Regions from separate parts of the Homo sapiens genome. Here region 2 is linked to region 1. The links are contacts of gene promoters, found by promoter capture Hi-C in blood cells and fetal thymus (Javierre and others, 2016). All regions are on one chromosome and are shown on one strand. The core of a region is centred on a gene start or on the middle of the fragment in contact, and the rest is flanking DNA. Distances in the headings are between cores, read along the strand shown. Region 1 holds the start of LPAR1 (lysophosphatidic acid receptor 1). Region 2 has its middle 20 kb from the start of C9orf152.

The links. Contacts are between HindIII fragments. The CHiCAGO score rates a contact against its expected background, and 5 or more counts as called.
Region 2: a contact is called between a fragment that was not itself captured here and the fragment with the promoter of LPAR1 in region 1, in 1 of 17 cell types (neutrophils). The highest score is 5.5, in neutrophils.

The regions. Positions count from the first base shown.
Region 1 is chr9:111,036,983-111,042,169 of GRCh38, forward strand. It overlaps LPAR1 (lysophosphatidic acid receptor 1), which reads right to left and starts at 1,488. Exons shown (of 6, transcript NM_001351411.2): 1 at 1,185-1,488. It overlaps LOC124902248 (a long non-coding RNA gene), which reads left to right. Exons shown (of 2, transcript XR_007061732.1): 1 at 1-807; 2 at 2,473-5,187. RefSeq lists a silencer at 918-1,257. The HindIII fragment of the contact is 5,735 bases long and covers 1-5,057 here.
Region 2 is chr9:110,185,516-110,191,116 of GRCh38, forward strand. No RefSeq gene overlaps it. Among named protein-coding and RNA genes, the nearest start is that of C9orf152, 20 kb to the right of the region's middle. The HindIII fragment of the contact is 1,964 bases long and covers 968-2,931 here.

The DNA.
Region 1 (5,187 bases), core at 238-2,737:
ACACCCTTTTTCCTTGGGACCCACTCTTCTATCCGGCAAGGGAATAACTTCTTAAAAAACTTCGCATTTTCCAAGTGTACAGTCTCCCCTTAACCAGAACTGCAGACTCTGAATCACAGACCTCTGGCTTACCAATTATGCTTAGCTGAGCAAACACACTTATGCAAATACGTGAAAAACAAACTGTTAGAGCCTGAAGGAATAGAGGATTTCGCTGTGATCATCAATATGTGATCATCACATTTTCAATATTTATGTTTACCAATATCTATCTAACCCCATAGGAAACGACGCGTCCATAGTGAAACAAGCCAGCACCCACATTTATGAAAAAATCCACGGATTTCAACAAAAATGAAGAGAGGAGAGCAGAAGCGGAGAGCCACAACCTCAGGCCCCAGACAGCAGGCAGCAGCAAGTCCTGAATGCCTTCACTCTTAACATTGCAAAGACCAAATGGCAGCAAAGAAAAACAAGAATAAACTTTAAATCCATTCACCACAAAGGAGTCCTACGCAAGTCAAAGGAGCCGTCGATTTCAAAACCATCAACTTTCAAAGCCAGGTCCCTCCCTTGCCTTACAACCTCCTGTTACTTGTTAAGCACGTTTGTTAGGCGGCTGGACAGAAACTTAGTTAAAAGTCCTCAGCCCGGTGGTGGGGGACAACCGAGTCGTCAGTGGGAAGCGAGAGGTGCGGAGCCCCAGGGGCGCAGGGACCCCTCGGAGGTGCAAGTCCAGCGGGACGAGGTTTTGGGAGAATTTCGAGGGCCCCTCGCAAGCCCTCCCGCGCACCCACCCCGACCCAGGTAACCGGAGGCCACCTACGTGTCACTGGGCGGGCCCCGGGGCGCACTGACCTGGCGCGGGACAGGAGGGCCGGCGGCCCGGGCGGCTGCGGCAACTTCCCTCCAGGGGCTCGGTCCGCCGCTGGGTGCGGGAGGCCAGGGGAGCCTCGCCTCCTGCAGGCCGGCTCGCAAGAACGCACGGCCACCCACCCGCGCCGCGGCCCACAGCGCGCACCCACACTCTCACTGGCACTCGCACGCGCGCCCCCAACCACAAAGCCCGTCCGCGGCGGGACAGTGTGAGCCCAGCGCGCCGTGTGGCGGGCCGAGCAGTCGCCGCGGCCTCTGGCTTCGCGCCCAGGGGGCGCCGTCCCCACACGCCGCGCCGGCCCCCTTACCTGCGCTCGCTGCCGCCGCGCGTCCCTCTCCTGCCGCCCCCGGGCTGGCTTCAGGCCGCGCGCCCAGTCCCGGCGGCCCCCGCCCCACCGCCAGCCGAGCCCGGCCCTCCGCCCGCCCCTCGGCAGTCGCCCAGAGCGGGGCCGCCCCCTGCGCCCACCCCGCCGGGGTCCCGTGCTCGGCCGGGCGGCGGGGAGGGCTCCGCGGCTCCGGGCCCTGGCCGCCCCAGATCCGGCCCGCGCTCCGCAGCGGGGCTGGAGACGGAGTCGCCACTCAGGGAGCGTCAGCCGCCAGTCGGCCCCTACTGCCCGGCTTTGGCGCGCTGGCAGGAGGAGGGGGCGCAGAGGGAGGGCCAGAGGAGCAGCGCCGACGCCAGCCTCCTCTCTTCCTCCGCCTTCCTTCTTTTCTGCTTGTTCCACGTAGCACAAGTCAGCAACACCCGAACCCCCAGAGTCCGCCCTCCCCGCTCCCAAGCTGGACCCCTTACCTGGTGTGGCGCCCCCAGCGCCCCTGACCTCTGCGCCCCCTCCTCCATTCATTGGCTCGACAGCCCACGGTGGTGGCAGGGCCGGGGCTGGGGGGTGGCCTTAGCCTCCCATTCATTATCTCAGCAGCCTCCCCCGCCCCGCCCCCGAGTCGACACACCCGCAGCGGGAGACCCGTGGCCGCCAGCTCGGGTCCCACCCCCGCCCCTCCTGCGCTTACCCCAGCGCCGGACAGCTGGCAGGACTCCGGTGGACGCCCCGGCACGGGGCATTTTCACGTTGTCGCTCTCCTCTTCCCACTCGAAAAGCTCTGGAAAACATCGCGGGGCCCGCAAAACCCCGGAAATGTGGCCTCTCTTTCGTGGCTCACTTTCTAAACTTTCCAGAAGGCGCAAAGTTTCTCCCAGCGCCGCCCTGCACTGGAGGCTGCGAAGAACGCAGAAGCGGCTTTGCTGCTAGGAAGGTGCATACGTTTCTAGTTCTGATTTTTCACTTCACTGGATCTGTAAACGAAAGCAAGTGTGTCTGCTCCCCTAGTTCTCCATATCCACGATTATAAATTTCTCTTCCGCTTTCCCAGTGTAGCTTTGCAAGTGTAAACTATCAATTTTAGTGAGAGTAATTAAGGGCGGGGACTGCACACCTGGAGGTGTGGGTGGGAGCGGCGCGGGACTAAGGCCTAGGGAACATTCTCAGGAGAGTGGCAGCCACAGGGATTCGCCCAGGTCTTATAACACACCCACTCGATGGGGTCTCCCTAGCCACGCCACCTCACAACACCCATCTCCCACTTCTGGCTTCCCAGGATTTCCGGAGTGATCACAATTATCGGCCTCTCGCTCCACAGCTAAGGCCACCGCATATCAAAAATAGCAGCGTGTGAGTAAAAGTTTCATGAGCCCTCGCCTTGAAATGGCACAGAGGACACAGCACACCAGCAGTAAGGCATGGGGACTCGGCAGGACTGATCTGATTGAGAGAAACGCAGGACAGCGAGGCGGGGCTATGTTGGTGGTGGCCACCAGGTAACCGTGGGCTTTGCAGAAGAGAAAGGTCACTGCAAACCGTAGCTGGACGGAAACTTTTCAAGCCTCAAGTGAGTTATGCTGTGACGGGACCATGACCATCTCCCACCGGTGACTGCTTAGAACCTTGACCAAGCTCGTGTGGTTTTCACAGGATGCTCAGGGCTGAGTCCTGGCTGTAAATAATTTACTATCTAAAGCTGTTTCCTTTTAAAAACAATGGTTCTAATCTTTTTTTTAAAAAAAATCATTCAAATCTTTTTTAAAAATCCACTTTAAATAACTTTGCTTTCTATACCTTTCCTACGAATATATGATTTATTTTATAACCTACTATGTGAAAAAATTGAAATTTTAGTACATGCACAGTGCTAATATGTTCATGCACAATGCTACTTATGTTTGTGTACGGCATGCAGAAATGTGTATAGATATGTATACCCATGAATACAAACCACTCCCTTATCTCACAAATAATCATAGGGGTTGATACCAAACTATAAGAAATATTATATTGGGATGAATAGGCAAATGTTCACTATAAAATCTCAGTATCATAAAAAGTATATATTGGTAAGAAAAAAATATACTCGAAAGAGGTTTCCATATATTTTTAACCATAGCTCTACTCAAGTCAAAAAATCACTTATTAGCTAATTTTCCCGTCTCTTTCTTCCTATACACTGTACTTACTATCAGATTTCTTAACACCAATACTTCTATATCTAATATAAAGACATTTTAAAATTAATTATTTCCATGTTTAGCCTTTCCCCATAAATCAAAGGTAAAGTAAAAGGAGTTTCTTACCTACCACTCAACTTGAATATTTTTAATATGTTGATTTTGTCTCTTACCTTCTTAAGGAATACAGTTGCTTCTGTTTTGACTATCTTAACTACTCTGTGGCCCCTTCTAACATCAAATTGGGAGGCCTGTCCGTACAAGACATGTGTATTCAACAGTAAGTTATTTGCTATAAAACACTTCATTTCCTCTTTATTTGGTCTGCTGTGGCCTGAAATGAAATATAGAACAAACTGAAAGGTCTGCCTGGACAGACCTGTCTTCCTGACAAGCGTGGACCTGTCTAAATGAGACAGCTTCTGCAGCCAGCTTTAGATCGATAACTCTAAAATTAAATGTAGGTATGTACATCCAGTAGAAAAGGACAGAGAAAATGAAATACAATACAGAATTCAGTTCAGCATCTAGATTAATCCATAAAACCTAGCTCATTATGTTCCAAATGAGCTACTTTTCTCATCTGTAAAATGGAATAATGGTACCAGTGCAGTCTTTTATATGGTTCCAAGTTGTCTTTTATCAAAGTAAAATAATATATTTGGGTGGGCTTCTGAAGACACTAACATTGATGATGAGGTTTCAACAGGAACAAAGAATACCTTGATAAATTTTCTTGAATGTTTTCTCCTGTCTGTAGTCCTCTTGTCATTCAGACATTCCCTTTCTTGGAGAGTCATCCTGATGCTTTCTGTCCTAACCTTTCTCTCCTCCCCTCTGCCAAGCAGTATTTCTTTAGATTTGTTTCTTCAAATGACTTCAGCAGAGGTAAAGACCCAAAGACAGCTGGCGCTGTCAAACATGACAAAAAATATTCTTAGCCACAGTGGCTCATGCTTGTAATCCCAGCATTTTGGGAGGCTGAGGCGAGAGGAGCGCTTGAGCCCAGGAGTTCGAAGCTGCAGTGAGCTGCCATTGTGCCACTGCACTCCAGCCTGGGCAACAGCCAGGCCCTGTCTCTTAAAAAGTTTTAAAATTTTTAAATATATATGTATGTTCAGCAAAATGAAGCCAGGCATGGTGGCTCACACCTGTAATCCCAGCACCTTGGGAGGCCAAGGTGGGCAGATCGCTTGAGGCCAAGAGTTTGAGACCAGCCTGGCCAACATGTCTGTCTCTACTAAAACCCTGTCTCTACTAAAAATATAAAAATTAGCCGGCATGGTGGTGCATGCCTGTAGTCCCAGCTGTTGGGAGGCTGAGGCATAAGAATCTCTTGAACTTGGGAGAGAGAGGTTGCAGTGAGCCAAGATTGCACCACTGCACTCCAGCCTGGGCAACAGAACAAGACTGTGTCTCAGAAAAAGTTCAGCAAAATGAAACATTGTGATGGATATTTCAAGTTCAGGTTTTACATTAATATCTGGAAGGACACCATAGACTTTGTCAGACTATTGATATAAGCTAGTGATCCAAGGACTATAATTTGAGAAGCATTTCGGGTGGAAAAATTGGCTGTCACTGCCTTTGGCACTATTATTTGTTCAAAAGGTTCCCCAGTCATGGCACACTCATGGAAGAGTTCTCTCTTCCTCCCTCTGTTCGCTTCCCTCTGGCAAAAAGCTTTTGAAATTTTCTGTTCGAGAGTAATCAAAACTATCAGCAAAACGATCTGTTGGAAACTTTCCCTCCAGTCTATTAAGGTAGAGACTGATTCAAAGACAGTATTTTGGTGAAACAATACCCTGAGA
Region 2 (5,601 bases), core at 700-3,199, 850 kb before region 1:
GGTGTTTGTACTTGTGGCAGTTTCTCTAATTCTGAGTTTGCAAGCCTTGCAGACTGACCTGAAGAAAATGGCTGTGGCTGTCGAACACGTTTGCCATGTGGTTTAGTCTGGGTTCATTTCAGCTGGTCTGGATTGATTGCGTGCTTATCTCCAGAGCTACCTGCTGCATGGTAGTGACCTTAGCTAAAACTATGGAATGCATTCACTAAAGAGAAATAATGTGTTTTAACCATGAGTTCCTGAGTAGTTTCCCGAAAGGATGTACCAGTCTACCTGCAATGTTTAGTAATCATAATAATTATTATATGCATCTGATGTTGGTGGAGCCTGGGTTGACCTTTAAGGCTGGCCATGTAGCTGGAATGGCCTAGGGGACCAGCTCACTAGAAGAGACCCTCCCTGCAAGTAGACCTGGGTTTCCAGTTCTCATATTCTCTGTGTGAACGCTGATGGTGTCTGAGACCTAGAAACCAAGCATGTCTTGTGTGACTCAGCAATGGGAAGACAAAGAAGCCTGTGCCTGAGAGCTGCAGATCCCTTTTGATACTCTTCTCTCTCCTGCGGTTGCAGTATTGTACCCTTTACCTGTAATAAAGCTGTCTGAGTATAAACTCAGCACCTTAAGTATAACACTTAAGGTAATTAATGTGTAATTAATGCACATATTCTTCTAGATACACCTGCATACTCATATAATGTCACCCAAACCATTAAGTGATTTACTTGGTCCTTGGCCATCAGTCTGGTACACTGGAAAGGTACAGGCTCATTATAAGGGTATGATGAGGGTTTTCTACCGTAACTCTCTGGACTCCATAAACATCCCCAAAGAGAATTCAGATTATCTTTTCTACCTGTGTTTGAGGTGCCACAGCACAAAGCTCACTCCAGGCAGACAGAGGAAAGTGAGCACTGGGCAGGTTGAGGCAAGTATGAATCATCCTCTGACATCAGACCCCTCCTTGGAAGCTTTATCATTGGTATGCTTAATCCAGTTCCATCTGAGCCTACATCAAAAGTGGAGAAGAATAAGTTTGGGGAGCAAAAATGTGGGAGTGAATTTGGTGCAAGGGGTTCACATTAAAGCATAGCATTCCAGAAGCCCATTTAAAATGGGTCCCGGGTTTCAAGAGAGTGAGCAGGGCAGGATATTCCCCAGGGAATCACCTGCATAGATGTGAGAGGTGATGCCATGGACCACCTCGCCAAGGAGGAATGCAGACAAAAAATGGGATGAGCACCTGGGACAGAGCCATGTGGATGAGACAGAAAGATTCAGGCAGAAAGGTCAGAGGGGAGCCAGAGGGCAATCATACATAACTTTACAAAAAGTAATAACTTGGCCAGGGGCGGTGGCTCACACCTGTAATCCCAGCACTTTAGGAGGCCGAGGTGGGTGGATCACCTGAGGTCAGGAGTTTGAGACCAGCCTGTCCAACATGGTGAAACATCTCTACTAAAAATACAAAAATTAGCTGGATGCATTGGTGGGCACCTGTAATCCCAGCTACTTGAGAGGCTGAGGCAGGAGAATTGCTTGAACTGAGGAGGCTGAGGTTGCAGTCAATGGAGATGATGCCATTGTACTCCAGCCTGGGCAACAGAGCAAGACTCTGTCTCAAAAAAAAACAAACAAAAGTAATAAATTATTAAGAGGAAATTCACATAACATTAACCATTGTAAAGCAGATAATTCAGTACATTCACAATGTTATACAACCACCACCTCTAGTTCCAAAACCTTTTTATTATCCCAAACGGAAATCCTGTGCTGTGTCCTGTAAATGGTCACTCCCCATTCCCCTCACTTCCAGCTTCTGGCAACCACTAAGCTGCTTTCTGTCTATGAATTTGCCTATTGTGCACATTGCACATAAATAGAATCATACAATATGTGCCCTTTTGTGAATGAGCTTCTTTCTCCTAGTATAATGCTTTCAAGGTTCAGCCGTGTTGTAACATGAATCAGTACTTCATTCCTTTTGATGGCTGAATAATAATCTATCATATGGATAGACCACATTTTGTTTCTCCATACTCTGTTGGTGGGCACTTGGGTTGTTTCCACTGTTTGGCTATTGTGAGCAGTGCTGAAAACATGGGTGTACATGTACTTATTTTAGTCCCTTTTTTCCATTCTTTTGGGTGTATACCTAGGAATGGAATTGTGAGGTCATATGGTAATTTTCTGTTTAACTTCATACATAACTTTCAAGCTCAGCCGCATCAGCGGTTGGCAATTAGAAGAAGGTTGTTGGAGAGAACTGTCAGTCAGCTGAGAGTCCTATCCCCATAAAGAGGGGGTAGTAGGGGATGCCTGCCTCATTTCAAGCTGTGGGAAAGAGGTTTTCAAAAGGGCCCCTCAAGCAGCTTTTATTTGTTCCTTGTAAACTGGAGAACATGACACACCTGAGAACTCCAAAGGGCTCCAGGTCATAGCTGACGGTGTCCCTAATGGCTGCATGAGGTTGGCCTCCTCTCCTGAGTTTGTGAGCACAAAGTATGTGTGTGACCCATGAAGCAGAGAGGGGCTTCGCATTTAAGACAGATGGTGTTAAGATTTTCTTAGATCCTGATTACAACCACTGCCTTGGAGGGGTGAGGTGTGGAGCAAGAGCAAAACCAAGCTGGTGGTTGACTCCTGCATGCCGAGGAGCTGCAGATGGATTCTAAGCAACCAGGAAAAGCAGAGATGCCTCCTCCCATGTCCAGGGAGGATCCCATCCATTAGAGGGTGAATTTCCAAAATGAGGAAAGAAAAAGTGTCAGCATTTAATTCCTTCCCCGTGCATCTCATGACAGTATTACTCAAGTAAGGTCTTACCCACCTCCCTCCCAGTTATTGTACACTCCCAACCCTGGAGAGGATGAAACTTCCCTAAGTAACTTGGGATGAGAGCTAGAAGCTCAAGTTTGGAGAGCAGTTAACCAAGCTTCCCGTCCTTCCTCACTGCAGACGTCCAGCCCAGAGCTCCTGAGAAAGAAGTTGGAGGGCTTTTTTGTTTTTAAACTTGTGCTGGGCAGGACTTACTAAGTTCTGAACTGAAACGAGTGGTTTTCATTCCTATGAGTGACACACCCAGCCATGAATTTCATCCAAGGCCTTGGAAGGTAAAAATGAAGTTGTTTATAATTAATTATCTCCTGTTATGGAGTAAATGTTTGCATACTCCAAAATTCATATGTTGAAATCCTGAACCCCAATCTGGTGATATTAGGAGATGGGGTATTTGGGAGGTGATTGGGTCATGAGGATGGAGACCTCATGAATGGTACTGGTGTTCTTATAAAAGAGACCTCAGGGAAAAAAAAGAAAATAAAAAAGCGACCCCAGAGAGATCTCTTGATCCTTCCACCATGTGAGGACACAGCCAGAAGATGGCCGTCTATGAACAGGAAGCAGGCCCCCATTAGATGCTGAGTTTACCAGTGCATTGATCTTACACTTCCCAGCCTCTAGAACTTTCAGAAACAGATTTCTGCTGTTTATAAGCCACCCAGTCTACGGTATTCAATTATGGCAGCCTGAACTGACTCAGACATATCCCAGAAGTTGCACCTGTTCCAAGTGGTTAAATTTTTGTTACTTAGCCTCCTTAAGAACAAAGCTCGTGACTTCCTCTGTATCTGTTGCTTCTGTACCAGAGTCTGGCATGTGGAGACACTGAGTACATGTTCTCTCTTTGTGCATAAACTCTGTTTACTTCCTCATCAAGCACTCCAGCTGGAACTCAGCAAGCAAACACAAGGCGTGCTTCACAGCCCTGGGCCTGGAGGCTAGTGCAGCAAAGGGTGAGACGTTCTGTGCCCTTCCTATGGGGATAGGTAGGGAGTGAAACTTTTACCCTGCCACCTCCTTTCCCCCATCAGCAGAGATTAACAGAATGGACATTCTGTAGACTGGATAGGAAAATGGAGCTAAAAGTTACTTATCTTGCAAAAATGTCATAATCTCCCCAAAGCTAGTAAGCAATTCTCTGTGTCTCTGTCCAAACGCTTGGGACACTAAGGCGGATTGTTTTTTTTTTTTTTTTTTTTTTAAACTCAAAAAAGAAGAAATGTTTACAAGGGAAAATCTACCAAATGTGACTTCTCCATACTGATCACCCATTAAGGCAGGGGGTAGACTCTACCACAAATGGTGGTTTTCAAAGTTGAGTGTGCATCAGAATCCTATGGAAGCCTCGCTAAAACGGACTGCTGGCCCTCACCTCTTGAGTTTCTGAGTCAACAGGTCTGGGTGGGGCCAAATAATTTTCATTTTGGACATGTTTCCAGGTGACGCCGATGCTGCTGGCCTGCAGAACACACTTTAGAGCCCCTGAGTGAGACATAGGAGATTTGCTGGGATTCAAAATCACTCTTAAATTAACCACCCTAAAATTTTTAAAGTGTCTGAAAAATACCCTGAAAATAACTCTTTGCCCACCCTCCTCACCTCTGGCTAAATACCTGAGAGAGGTTTTCCAGGAGTTTCTTGCCCAAATCATTCCAGGCCCTTGCCCTGAAGCCTGCCTCGTTGTAATCACTGCATTCTCTCTGGTCTTCATATGACTTCCAGTCCATCTCAAGAATAATGCTGAAATTAGAGAAACTCCAAGACATGAAGTCATCAGCACACTTCTGGTTCTATGTAATGATGAAAGGCAGACAGGTCAGCCCTAGTGGGGAAGCTCAGGGTTTTCCAAAGCTTTGGGATGAGGAAGCTGCATCCCAAAAGAGGGTCCTCTGAGATGGTTCTCAAGGATACGGCAGGGCCTACCTGTTGGTAGGAGGAACAAAAAGGGTCTTCTGGCCTACAGTCTTTTTCAAAGACTCATCTGGGTGACTTCCTTGCCTTCTACTCACAGAGCTGGTGTGATAAAATACGCATGGGGCTGCCTCCCCCATAGGACCCTCCCCAACCCCTTCTCCCCACCATGGGAACTCAAGTGGAATATAAGAGTGGCACCCAAAGGAGGAGAGACATGAAGATTCCCACAAGTTCTGTACTCAGCCTCACAGAGAAGCCTCTATCCATTGAGCACATTTGTGCCTCAGTTTATAATCAGTGTGGTCCTAAGGCAGTGGGTCTCAATGCTGAATCTTAGAATTCTAGAATCACCAGAGGGAGCTTTCAAAAAATACCCATGCTTGAAACCAGCTCACCCAGACAGGCATCTGTAAAAAAAGAGGGGTGGGGAGGTTTAAAGAGAAATGGAAGCAAATGTCCACGAAAGGATGTGTAAAATGAACAATGCTTACTGTATGCATATAGCAAAAAAGTAGAAACAGGAGAATGGAAAAATAAATTGTAGTTAATTATTGGGAAGAGACTGAAGGCGACTTTCTAGAATGCTCAAAATGTATATCTTGATCTGTGTGTGTATGTATCTGTATCTGTGAAAATAAGCAGATATAGATGTAGATATAGATACAGATATGGTTTGACTGTGTCCTCACCCAAATGTCAACTTTTTTTTTTTTTTTAGATGGAGTCTTACTGTATCACTCTGTTGCCCAGGCTGGAGTGCAGTGGCGTGATCTCGGTTCACTGCAACCTCCGCCTCCTGGGTTCAAGCGATTATCCTGCCTCAGCCTCCCGAGTAGCTAGGACTACAG